Regions from separate parts of the Homo sapiens genome. Here region 2 is linked to region 1. Evidence: promoter capture Hi-C in human tissues and cell types (Jung and others, 2019). All regions are on one chromosome and are shown on one strand. The core of a region is centred on a gene start or on the middle of the fragment in contact, and the rest is flanking DNA. Distances in the headings are between cores, read along the strand shown.

Evidence for each region. Contacts are between HindIII fragments. The study calls those that stand out against the background at their distance.
Region 2: a fragment that was not itself captured here is called in contact with the fragment with the promoter of GSC2 in region 1 in 2 of the 25 tissues and cell types used here (H1 embryonic stem cells and IMR-90 fibroblasts).

The regions. Positions count from the first base shown.
Region 1 is chr22:19,146,587-19,152,447 of GRCh38, forward strand. It overlaps GSC2 (goosecoid homeobox 2), which reads right to left and starts at 3,706. Exons shown (of 3, transcript NM_005315.2): 1 at 3,439-3,706; 2 at 3,077-3,330; 3 at 407-2,509. The coding sequence starts at 3,697. The coding sequence ends at 2,405. RefSeq lists an enhancer at 2,658-3,157. The HindIII fragment of the contact is 19,488 bases long and covers 1-5,861 here.
Region 2 is chr22:19,325,493-19,331,353 of GRCh38, forward strand. LOC105372859 (a long non-coding RNA gene) reads left to right here. Exons shown (of 6, transcript XR_938002.3): 2 at 2,906-3,081; 3 at 4,483-4,588. HIRA (histone cell cycle regulator) reads right to left here. Exons shown (of 25, transcript NM_003325.4): 25 at 5,206-5,861. Among named protein-coding and RNA genes, the nearest start is that of CLTCL1, 37 kb to the left of the region's middle. The HindIII fragment of the contact is 5,118 bases long and covers 1-4,948 here.

The DNA of each region.
Region 1 (5,861 bases), core at 2,456-4,955:
GCAGGCCAGGCACAGTGGCTCATGCCTATAATCCCAGCACTTTGGAAGGCCTAGGCCGGCGGATAGTTTGAGGTCAGAAGTTTGAGACCAGCCTGGCCAACATGGCAAGACCTCATCTCTACAAAAAACTTTTCAAGTTAGTCGGGTGTGGTGGTGCCCACCTGTGGTCCTAGCTACTCAGAAGGCTGATGGGGGAGGATCGCTTGAGCCCAGGAGCTGGAGGCTATAGTGAGCCATGATTGCACCACTACACTCCAGCTTGGGTGATGGAGCGAGACCTTGTCTCAAACCAACCGACAAACAAAAAAGCAGAGCCAGTGTGGTGCAGGTGGACAAGATTAGAGACAGTTGCAGTGGTCAAGGTGAGAGGTGACGGTGGCTTACATCAGACTGGTGCAGTTAGAGCTGGAGAGATTCTGGGATTTATTGATTTATTGATAAACAGTAAAACTGACTTCCTGTCAGCCTGGGTATAGTGGATGATCAGGAGAGGGAGGGGTCCAGGGACCAGTTTCGGGTGGGCGGCTAGCTCTCTGGCTCATGTGCCTGGTTTGCACAGAAGAGCTCACTGTGGACAAGGTGACCTTAAGGAGTCTGTGGGCTTCAAGGGGACAGCTGGAGATAAATACCTGGCTCAGGGGAAGTGCCTGGCTTGAGATGTAAATGTGGCAGAAAGATGGGAATTGGAGTCTGAGGGTAAAAGATAAACCGGGAAGAGGGTGAAGATGAGAAGCGAGCGCCTGGGTGTGAGCGTGAAGGATGCCTATGTTAATAGCCTGCTGTGGGGGGTCAGCCTGCCAAGGAGCAGCTAGAGCTCAAGAAGCAAATTCAGGAGAGCAACACAGCCACTGAGCCCTGGAAGGTGGCGCTCCACAAGCTCTGATCGGGGCTCCCAAAACAATGACAGATGGCCATTCAACCAAGGAACTCAAGGGGCCTGGAGCCTGTGAGATGCGAGTGTCCCCAGCTGCAAGGGAGCTGACTGGGACACGGGCATGTCCACAGGTAGTCTGTTCAGTCCCCAAGGGCAAGACCAGGGTTCAGGGAGAAGGGCTTTGTGTGCATGCTAGGGGTGGAGGCGGGGATGCTAGGGACACCCAGCAGTGTCAGGGCAGTTCTGACTGGGGACACCATGCTTGCTTGGTGTTATCCAAGCTGGCCAGCCTTGGGGTGTCTGGGGAGCTGCAGCCCTGGCTTCTGCAGTCCTGCTTTTAGAGATGGACTTCATCTCTTGCAGGTAGAATGGCCCCATTCCCTGCAGGGCCTGTAAGGAGACAGAACGAGGTGCTCAAGCCAGCTGGGGGTGGGGATGTGAGATGCTTTGGACCCACTGTAGGGCCTACTTGGGGAATCTAAGGCTTCTTTCCACTGTGCCTTTTGCCATGGGCCAGGATAAAGAAGGGGAGGGCAGGCATCTTCCCAGGCAGCAGGGGCGGGGTCTCCCCAGTCCAACCTCCTCTTGCCCTACCCTAGGATGGCACAGATTGCTGTGAGGGAGTCCGAGCCCACAGCATGAAAACCCCAGGAGGAAGCAGGGGACCCTCACCCATGGGCAGGTTCACAGTAGCCTAGAGGCCAGGGCTGGACCCCAGGGGTCCAAGGCCACCATCCGTGGAGCAGTCCCCTCTGCTGGGGAGCACCCTGGTGCAGAGACTGAGGATCGCTGAGCTGTGCTCCTCTCAAAGACAGCTGTACCCTAAATACCCCCTCGCTGGGAAGGAAGAAGAAGGGACAGCTCCTTGTTGGGTGTGGGAGTGGAGCCAAGGTGGACTTGAGACTCTGGGCGGCTTCTGTGGTATTTGAAGTTGCTAGTTTCTCAGTATCAGCGCGAGGCTCGAAGGTGAAGGGACTGTGGAGGGGCTCCTGGAATCGCTCCTGCGACCTTCTTATTCTACAGGTCCAGATACCAAGACCCAGCCCAGGGCCTGGGAAGCCTGCAACGCCAGGACTGCACAGACACGAACCCCATCCCCTCTCCCGCTGGGGGAGGACGAGCCAGGTCAAGTTAGGTCAATGTCCACATTGAGAAGAGGGTGGCCAGCATGTCCCAGGGTGCGGAGAGACGCTCCACTGCGTAGGATTCTGGGTCCCGTGTTGATACGGGGTGGTTCCCCTCCTGCGGTGGAGTTAGTGTCTCTCGGGGGGTAGGGAGCTGAGGAAACTGCTCTATGCCCCAGCCCACCCCCAAGGGACTCGCCACTCCCACTGCCGTGGAACACCAAGCACCGGGGGCCCGTCCCCAGCGCCACGGCAGCACGAGCTGCAGGAGGCAAGGGCTGTGGAGACGGGTGGAGGCGGCCGGTGTACTCTCCCAGCTCCTTTTCGGGTAGACCTGTCTTCTCTCAGCGCCAACTCCAAAGATCCCAAAAAGGGTGGCCGAGCCCAGGGGCAGCTCCTAGAGTCATCAGCAGCTCCCCTTCGGGGACTTCTTGACGCCGGGCAGGAGCCTCGCGGAAGCCGACGCGCGCTTCTGGTGTCGCCATTTGGCCCGGCGGTTCTTGAACCAGACCTGGGGATGGGGGGAATGCTCAGCCCTAGCCCCAGGTCCTGCGTCCCACCGGCTCCCGAGGGTCCCACAGGGACCGAGAGGGGAGCTTCGCAACAGGGATGTGGGCGGACGGCGCTGTAGAGCCGACACCCGGGCCGCGGCTGCGCGCCACCTGCCCTTATTCGCTGCGGACAGACTCGGTGGGTCTGGACGCGAGATGGGAACCCCCTTAGTACCCGCCCCAGCCTCCAGCTGGCGGCGACCAGGACGCCCCTTCTTGGGTTGCGGGCTCTTCTGAATTTCCCAAATTCTGGACGTGAACGCGGGCCTCTTTCGTCACCAGAGGAAAGTGTAAAACAAAAGAAAAGAAAAGTAGCCCTCCGGTTCCTTTCCCGCGGCACCTCCCTGCTCTCACCCGCTCCTCATACCCCCGGACGCCCAGCGCCGTCCAGGGACCTCCTCCCTCCGGCGCGCCAGGGCGGGGCTTGGGCCGAGGCCGTCTTTGCAAAGGGCGCCCGCCCGCCAGGACCCCAGTCCAGTGTAGCCGCGGCCCGCGCGCTCCGGGGAAAGGCTGGGCGGGGCACTCACCTCCACGCGCTCCTCGCGAAGGCGGATGCGGCCGGCCAGGCGCTCGCGCGTACTCACGTCAGGATACTGGTTCTGCACGAAAAGCGCCTCGAGCGCCTGCAGCTGCTCTTCGCTGAAGATGGTGCGGTGGCGCCTCGTGCGCCGCTGCGAACCCGGGCCGACCGCGCCCGGGAGCGCCCCGGAACCTCCGGCTGGCGCACCCAGAGACAAGGGCACCGCCGGTCCCAGCCTCAGCGGCCACGCCAGACGAGCGCCTGCGGAGCGAGGGCGCGGTGAGGCGCGGGGCTGGGGCCAAGCTCGGCACCCACTGCGCCGCGCCCCGGGCTCCGCCGGGCCCCGCGCCCCGCTCCGCGCCCACTCACCCAGCCCGGCGGCCGCCTCTGGGGGCCCGCAGGGCGCCGCGCGGGGGCCGCAGCAGCAGCAGCAGGCGCAGGGCGCAGCCTCGGGCGCCCCGGGCTCCTCTGGCTTCGCGGGGCTCTGGCGACCGGCGGGCTGCGGTGGGCAGGCGGCCCGGGCCGGGAGGCTCCGCTCGGGCAGGCTGGAGAGGATGTGCTCGATGGAGAAGGGGCAGGGCCGCCCGGCACCCCGGCGGCTCGCCGCGCCCCCAGCCGCTGCCGCCATGCCCGGCCCGGCCGGGGCGCCGCCGCCGCGGGAATATATACGTCGGGGAGGGAGCGCGCAGTAATCCCCGGGCCGGGCGTCCAGTCCACGCGGGTTAATCCCGCAGCGCCGGCCGCGAACGCGCTAATCCTCGACTGCGGCGGCCCTGCCTCCGCGCGCGGGGGCCGGGGGCGCTGCAGAGAGGGCCCCCTGTGCCCCCCACCCCGCCCCGCGTCCTCCTGCCCCACCCGCGCCCGCCGCTCAAGCTGGCAGGGCGACCTGCGGGGAAGGGGCGGAGGGCCGCCTCGCCGCCGCCCGCGGGGCCTGGCAGCCGCTCGGAGGGCGCCCCGACCCTGGCAGCTCCCCAGAGCGCGGCGGTGCCTCCCGGCCCAGCCTCTGGTGGCTCCCCCTCGTTCGGCTGGGCCTAATTCCTCGTCCCCTCTGGGGCCCTACTGCGGCGGCTCAGCACGCCTGCAGAAGCTCGGCCTAGCCGCCCACCCGAAACTCCTGGACCGCAGCCTCCATGGGGCCCAGCACCACCGGCAACCGCACGATCCCGCCGCGCTCGGGTCCCGAACCTGCCCGCCACCTCGGAGCCAGGGTCTCATGGCCCTGGAGGGCGTGAGAGCGCGGCAGGAAGCCTGGGCTGCCGGGTGCCCCCAGTTCTCCGTCTCCTCACCTGTGTCAAGGAGACCTCCCCGCCCCTTCCGAGGCCCCTCCTCGGTGCTTCAGAGCCGCCTGTCCTCCAGCTTTCCCACTGGTCCCAGAATCCCCGCGAAAACATCCAACACTGCACCTCGCCCTTCCCCGCACTGTCACTGCCCCCCAGAAGCTGTGGGCTCCCCCTCCTCGCTCTCCGCCCAGGCCAGTCCTCTGGCCACACCGTCCTCGGTCCCTTCTGCCACAGCGCAGGTGACCCGCACTTGGCTACATTGTTTCACCCTCAGTGAAGCGGCTCCTGGCAGCGGGACCGTCACTTCAGCTTAAGACCCTTTCCTCTTGACCTTTGAAAATACAGTATGGGACTCATAGCACAGAGAAACAGACGGCCTGGCTCATACTCCGTTGTCAATTTCTGGCCGTGTGACCTCCATAGGCGTCTTCAGCCTCTGGGCTTGGCTTTCCCAATCTGTAAAGTGTAGTGACTAGGTGTGAGACGGTTAGAACCTGGCCGCCTCCCCAGGGCAATGCGTATTCCTGCGCTCCTCCCGCCGCCAGCCCCTCTGCAAGACTCTGCCATCCCCACTCTGCTATCAGTGAAAGTGCTGTGGACATCACTGTGACCGAACCTGCTGATTTAATTTCTGTCACAAGAGCTCCCACATAGGTTTCCCAGGGGTAGTCTGGAGGCTCAGTGATGAGCTGCCACCTCCATGAGTGGCTCTGTCAACCCCTCCTCCACCCACCTCTTGGTGGTAGAATGGCTGCCACAGCCCCACACTTTTCATCTCCTCCCATGGCCCTTTGGATGGCCATGGATCCCTCCTCCCTCAGCAGACCTCCCTCACAGAACTGCATCTGGACCATCCTCCAAAATCAGAGTGCTGCTATGATGGGGGAGGCAGGGTCATTGGTCAGGAGAGCCAGCCCAACATTTGCTGAGCCCTCTTCCTCCTAGCCCTGGCCATTCCTTCATCCTTTCCCATTCTCACCCTCAATACCTATTCCAGCCTTGGAGCTCCAGACACCATCTTTGTGACAGTGACTCACAAGTGCACCTCCAGCCTGGCCTCTCTCTCTGCTCCACGCTCTTGTTTCTGGAGCCTGCTCCACATCTCCATCTCCACTACCAATAAAGTTCTCCCAGTCACCATGCCAGAAAGGAACTCAAGGTCTTCTCAAAATCCCTTTCTTACCCTATGTTCTCCACTTTTACAAATGGGCCACTGCCCACCTGTCCATCTCTAGTGCTCATTCTCTTCTACCTATTTGCCTCTGCGTGTGCCCTGCCTCTTTACCAGTCCACCTTGGTAAATGGCCCACTGTGGCACTTTTTCAAAAAGTTTATTTTCTATTTTGCATTATTTTTTGAGACAGGGTCTTGCTCTGTCACCCAGGCTGGAGTGCAGTGGTGTGATCATGGCTCACTGCAGCCTTGGCATCCTGAGCTCAAGTGATCCTCCTGCCTCAGCCTCCCAAGTAGCTGGGACTACAGGTGCACCACCATGCTCAGCTAATGTTTCTG
Region 2 (5,861 bases), core at 1,140-3,639, 180 kb after region 1:
ACTATGTTGTCCAGGCTGGTCTCAAACTCCTGGGCTCAAGTGATCCACCTGCCACAGCCTCCCAAAGTGTTGGGATTACAGGCACGAGCCATGGCACCCAGCTGATAAGGAATATTTTTTATGCAGAATAGATAAAAACTCTCACAAACTCAATGATAAAGACAATCCAATTGAAAAGTTGGCAAAGGATCTGAAAAATAAGACACACAAGTGACTAATATGCACATGAGAGGTTGAGCAACATATCAGTCACTAGGGAAATACAAATCAAAACCACTCTGAGATATCATGTTATACCCACTAGGATGCCTTTACTTAAAACAACCTGATAGGCTGAATGTGGTGGCTCACACCTGTAATCCCAGCACTTTGGTTGGCCAAAGCAGGAGGACTGCTTGAGCCCAGGAGTTCAAGATCAGCCTGGGCAACAGCGAGACCCCCGTCTCCATAAAAAAGTATAAATATACATACATACATACTTGGTAATAGGAAATGTTGGCAAAGATGTGGAAAAATTGGAAATCTCATACACTGCTGATATGAATATAAAATGGAGCAGCCACACTGGAAGGCAGAATGGTAGTTTGTTAAACAGTTAGTTATAGAGTGATCATACGGCTCAGCAATTCCACTCCTAGGTCTATATATTATATATCCGAGAGAAATGAAAACACATTTCCACATAAAAACTTGTACGCTGATGTTTATAGTACCATTATGCATAATTGCCAAAAGGTGGAAACAATCCAAATGTCCATCAACAGATGAACAGGTAAGCAAAATGATGCATACAATGGAATATTATTTGGTCATAAAAAGAAGTGGAATAGTGATACATGCTACAACATGGATGAAACTTGAAAATATTATGCTAAGTGAAAGCAGCCAGACAAGAGCAATATTCTGTGATTCAATTTATATGAAATGTTCTGAATAAGCAAATCTATAGAGACGGAAAGCAGGTTGATGGTTGCCTCAGAATGATGGGGATCGGGGATAGGGCATGATAAAGTGTATGGGGTTTCTTACTGAGGTGATGAAAAGATTCTAATAATGGCTGTGGTTAAAGTGTATGGGGTTTCTTACTGAGGTGATGAAAAGATTCTAATAATGGCTGTGGTGATGGCTGCACATATGATGTGACTACACTGAAAATCATTAGATTGTAAATCGCATGCTGTTAACTATTTCAGTAAAGCCGTTTTTTTTTTTTTAAGCAAAACATGAGCCATCCTTTTCTTTTTTTTTGAGAGTCTCGCTCTGTTGCCCAGGCTGGAGTGCAATGGCATGGTCTCGGCGCACTGCAACCTCTGCCTCCTGGGTTCAAGTGATTCTCCTGCCTCAGCCTCCCAAGTAGCTGGGATTGCAGGTGCGTGCCGCCATGCCTGGCTAATTTTTTGTATTTTTAGTACAGACAGGGTTTCACCATTTTGGCCAGGCTGGTCTCGAACTCCTGACTTCAAGTAATCCGCCGGTCTTGGCCTCCCAAAGTGCTGGGATTGCAGGCGTGAGCCACTGTGCCTGGCCATAATCTTTTCTTTTTTGAGATGGAATCTTGCTCTGTCACCCAGGCTGGAGTCCAGTGGCACAATCTCAGCTCACTGCAACCTCTGCTTCCCAGGTTCAAGCGATTCTCCTGCCTCAGCCACCTGAGTAGCTAAGACTACAGGCACCTGCCATCACACCTGGCTAATTTTTTTTTTTTTTTTTTTTTTTTTGTAGTTTTAGTAGAGGCAGGGTTTCACCATGTTGGCCAGGCTGGTCTCGAACTCCTGGCCTCAAGTGATCCACCTGCCTTGGCCTCCTAAAAGTGCTGGGATTACAGGCGTGAGCCATTGCACCTGTCCTGAGCCATCCTCCTGAGGAAAACGTACTCCATCTTGAGAAAAACCAACAGACGTAGGAATAGAGTACCTAGGTTATAGAGCAAGTATATGTTTAATTCTATGAGGAACGATCACACTGTTTATCAAAGTAACTATTCTTCCTACCAGCAATGCATGAGAGTTCCAGTTGCTCCACATCCTCACTAATACACATTATTGTCTTTTTAAAAAATGTAAGCCATTCTAATAGATATGTGTTGTTACTGTTATTTCTTTTGCTGTACAGAAGCTTTTTAGTTTGTCTAATTTGTCTACTTTTTTGTTGTATTTGCTTTTGAGTCCTTAGTCATAAATTCTTTCTTTCTTTCTTTTTATTTTTTTATTTTTTTTGAGACAGAGTCTCACTCTTTCGCCCAGGCCGGAGTGCAGTGGCGCTATCTTGGCTCACTTCAAGCTCCGCCTCCCTGGTTCACGCCACTCTCCTGCCTCAGCCTCCCGAGTAGCTGGGACTACAGGCACCCACCACTGCGCCAGGCTAATTTTTTGTATTTTTAGTAGGGACGGGGTTTCACCGTGTTAGCCAGGATGGTCTAGATCTCCTGACCTCATGATCCGCCCGCCTCAGCCTCCCAAAGTGCTGGGATTACAGGCGTGAGCCACCGCGCCCAGCTTTTTAAATTTTTTTTGAGACAGTCTCGCACTGTCACCCAGGCTGAAGTGCAGTGACGCGATCTCAGCTCACTGCAACCTGTCTCCTGGGTTCAAGCGATTCTCATGCCTCAGCCTCCTGAGTAGCTGGAATTACAGGTGTGTACCACCATGACTGGCTAATTTTTTGTTTTTGAGGCGGAGTTTCACTCTTGTTGCCCAGGCTGGAATGCAGTGGTGCAATCTTGGCTCACTGCAACCTCTGCCTCCCAGGTTCAAGTGATTCTCCTGCCTCAGCCTCCCAAGTATCTGGGATGACAGCCATGTGCCACCATGCCTGGCTAATTTTGTATTTTAGTAGAGAGGAGGTTTTACTATGTTGGTCAGGAAACAGTGTGATCATTTTGGGTCTTGCTTTTATTTTTTGGTAGGTGGATCTGAAGCAGTGCTGCCTTAGTCTCCTTGGACTCTCAGCTCCATTTCCTCAGCTCAAGTAGTCCACTGGGCTCTACCTCAGTTCTGCCTCCTCTTGCTGTGGCCTAGAAATTCTCTCTGGATATCAGAAAACAAAGGACAGTAATCCCTGCCAAGATGGGATACAAACAAGGTGAGCCCCATGATTGCCCAAGCGTACTACCTGGAGTGTCTTCTTCTGTTTTTTTCTTTTTCTTTTTTTTCTTCAAGATGGGATCTTCCTGTGTTGCCCAGGCTGGAGTGCAGTGCCATGATCATGGCTAATTGCAGCCTTGAACTCCTGGCCTCAAATGGTCCTCCCACCTCAGCCTCCCATGTAGCTAGGTCTCCAAGCGCATGCTACTGTGCCCAGCATGGTATCCAGTGTCTTGAAACCACCATTGCATGTATTTTTGACGGGCTCCTTTGGTTGTTTCAGGTAGAAGGGTCAACCTGGTCCCTGTTACTCCATCTTGTCTGTAAGTTGAAGGCCTTGATGTTTTCTGCTTATCTCTTCATCATCTCCAAACGGTGGTGGTAAAGTCACTCACGACTGCTGTTTCCTTCAAGGGAGGAAACGTGCGAAGACTTTGCCCACACAATCTCAATTTGTCCTCATAACGTTGCAGATTTTTTTTTTTTTTTTTTTTTTTGAGACGGAGTCTTGCTCTGTTGCCGAGGCTGGAGTGCAGTGGCGCGATCTTGGCTCACTGCAACCTCTGCCTCCCGGGTTCAAGCAATTCTCCTGCCTCAGCCTCCCGAGTAGCTGGGATTACAGGTGTGTGCCACCACACCCAGCTAATTTTTGTATTTTTAGTAGAGACGGGGGTTTCATCATGTTGGTCAGGCTGGCTCGAACTCCTGACCTCGTGATCTGCCCACCTTGGCCTCCCAGAGTGCTGGGATTATAGGTGTGAGCCACTGTGCCCGACCCCAGTGCAGATTTTTTTAGTCTCAATCTCTATTTGACAGCTAAAAAACTGAGGCCCAGATGTTTGCTGGTTTGGAGCCCAGACAGGCCTGTTGGCATATATTGCTTCCTGGAGCTCCACAAAGCTCGCAATGTCTTGCTGCATAGTTGCTAAGGGAGCTGCCTCACCTGCACAGCAAGTCTCTGGCTCTTCATTCCTTAAGAGTCCCACTTGCAGCCTGGCTTTTTATGTGTACACACACACACACTCACACAAACTATCCTGGCTTTATTTGGCATGAACACATGCCTGGGTCTCATCCAGCCACTTGACATCCGAGTGAGACATGGAGTGGAATGGCTGCTAGGCCAGAGATCAGTGGTCAGTTACCCCGGCCTCTGACTCCAAGTCCAAGGCTCCTTCTCCAGGCTCAGACCCACACACTGGGTGGTGGTGACAAAGATCAGGACCCAGGAGTGGGTGGTACTCAGCCCTCACTGTGCTTAAAGATTCTGTGATTCTGTTTCTTCTCCTGTAGATCAACGTCTGGATCACTTTCTAATAAAATTCCAACTTTGCTGATAATTCTCCAATATACCCAAGACTGTAAATACTGATTTCCTTTCATGAAATTGTCCAAACAGCTGCAGCCCTTGGTGCACAGTATGATCTGGACCTGGGGCACAGCAAGACCAGAACCATGAACCACCATGAACCATGACTCCTCACTTGTGAGATGACGTGTGCAAGGTGACCTATGGTGCTTCATGACCACAGAAGTGACCACTCTACACTGTGAAATGAATTTCTGCATGGGGGGTATATTAGGGTTCTCTACAGGGACAGAACTAATAGATATATATGAAAGTTTATTAAGTATTAACTTACACAATCACAAGGTCCCACAATAGGCCATCTGCAAGCTGAGGAGCAAGGAGAGCCAGTTCGAGTCCCAAAATTGAAGAACTTGGGAGTCCGATGTTTGAGGGCAGGAAGCATCCAGCACGGGAGAAAGATGTAGGCTGGGAGGCTAAGCAAGTCTCATCTCTTCACATTTTTCTGCCTGCTTTATATTCGTTGGCAGCTGATTAGATGGTGCCCACCTGATTAAGAGTGGGTCTGCCTTCCCCAGCCTGACTCAAATGTTAATCTCCTTTGGCAACACCCTCACAGACACATCCAGGATCAATATTGCATCCTTCAATCCAATCAAGTTGACACGCAGTATTAACCATGACAGGGGGGAATGAGATGACACAAAGGATCCCTTCTGGCTCTCATGTTCTGTCACCATCTACTTCAGGAGAGAGATGCACTGTGTGGGGAGGATGAAAGTTAGAAGGAAAAGGCAAGAGAAATCAGGAGGGTTTGGTATTCAATGCGTGTTCATTTATTTTACACTTACAAAAGAAATCGCCCACCCCTTTGCCCCATTCCCCCAAAACAGTCTCTTTTTACAAACATTTAAAAATTAAAACCAAATGAAGATAGACAAGTTAATTTCAGTACAATTATTTTTCAGTGTAGCTGTCATAATTAGAGTTTAAATTTCCTACAAGTGACCAATGTCCAAGTGACTTATAGGGAAATCCTGATTATCGGCCAAAGGAAATTCAATATTACAAGTTAGCAAATTCTAGTACAAAAATAGTCCGTGTGTTGGAACAGCTTTCCTTTTACATAGGTCTTAGGTCAGTCTGCTGTAATACCTAACGCTTCCGGATTCTCTCTCACAAATGGCTCAATCGTCACTGCTGAAGCAGCATGGTGCCTGCAGCAGCAGGGGCTAGTGTCCACCTTGGGGCCGTGCTGGAGACGGCAGGCCTGGGACTGCCTTGCTGGCCCCAGGGCACCTGGGCAGAGCTCCAGCCCTAGCTCCGCATCGGGGGCTTGGAGGGAGGGATGAGCTTCCCCCTCCTGAGGCAATGTCAGACCCAGGACACAGGGCACATCTGCCCAGGGAGCTGGGCTGGCGCTGGTGCAGGACAGCACATCTCCTGCCAGTGTCTCCTCCCCCTACAGC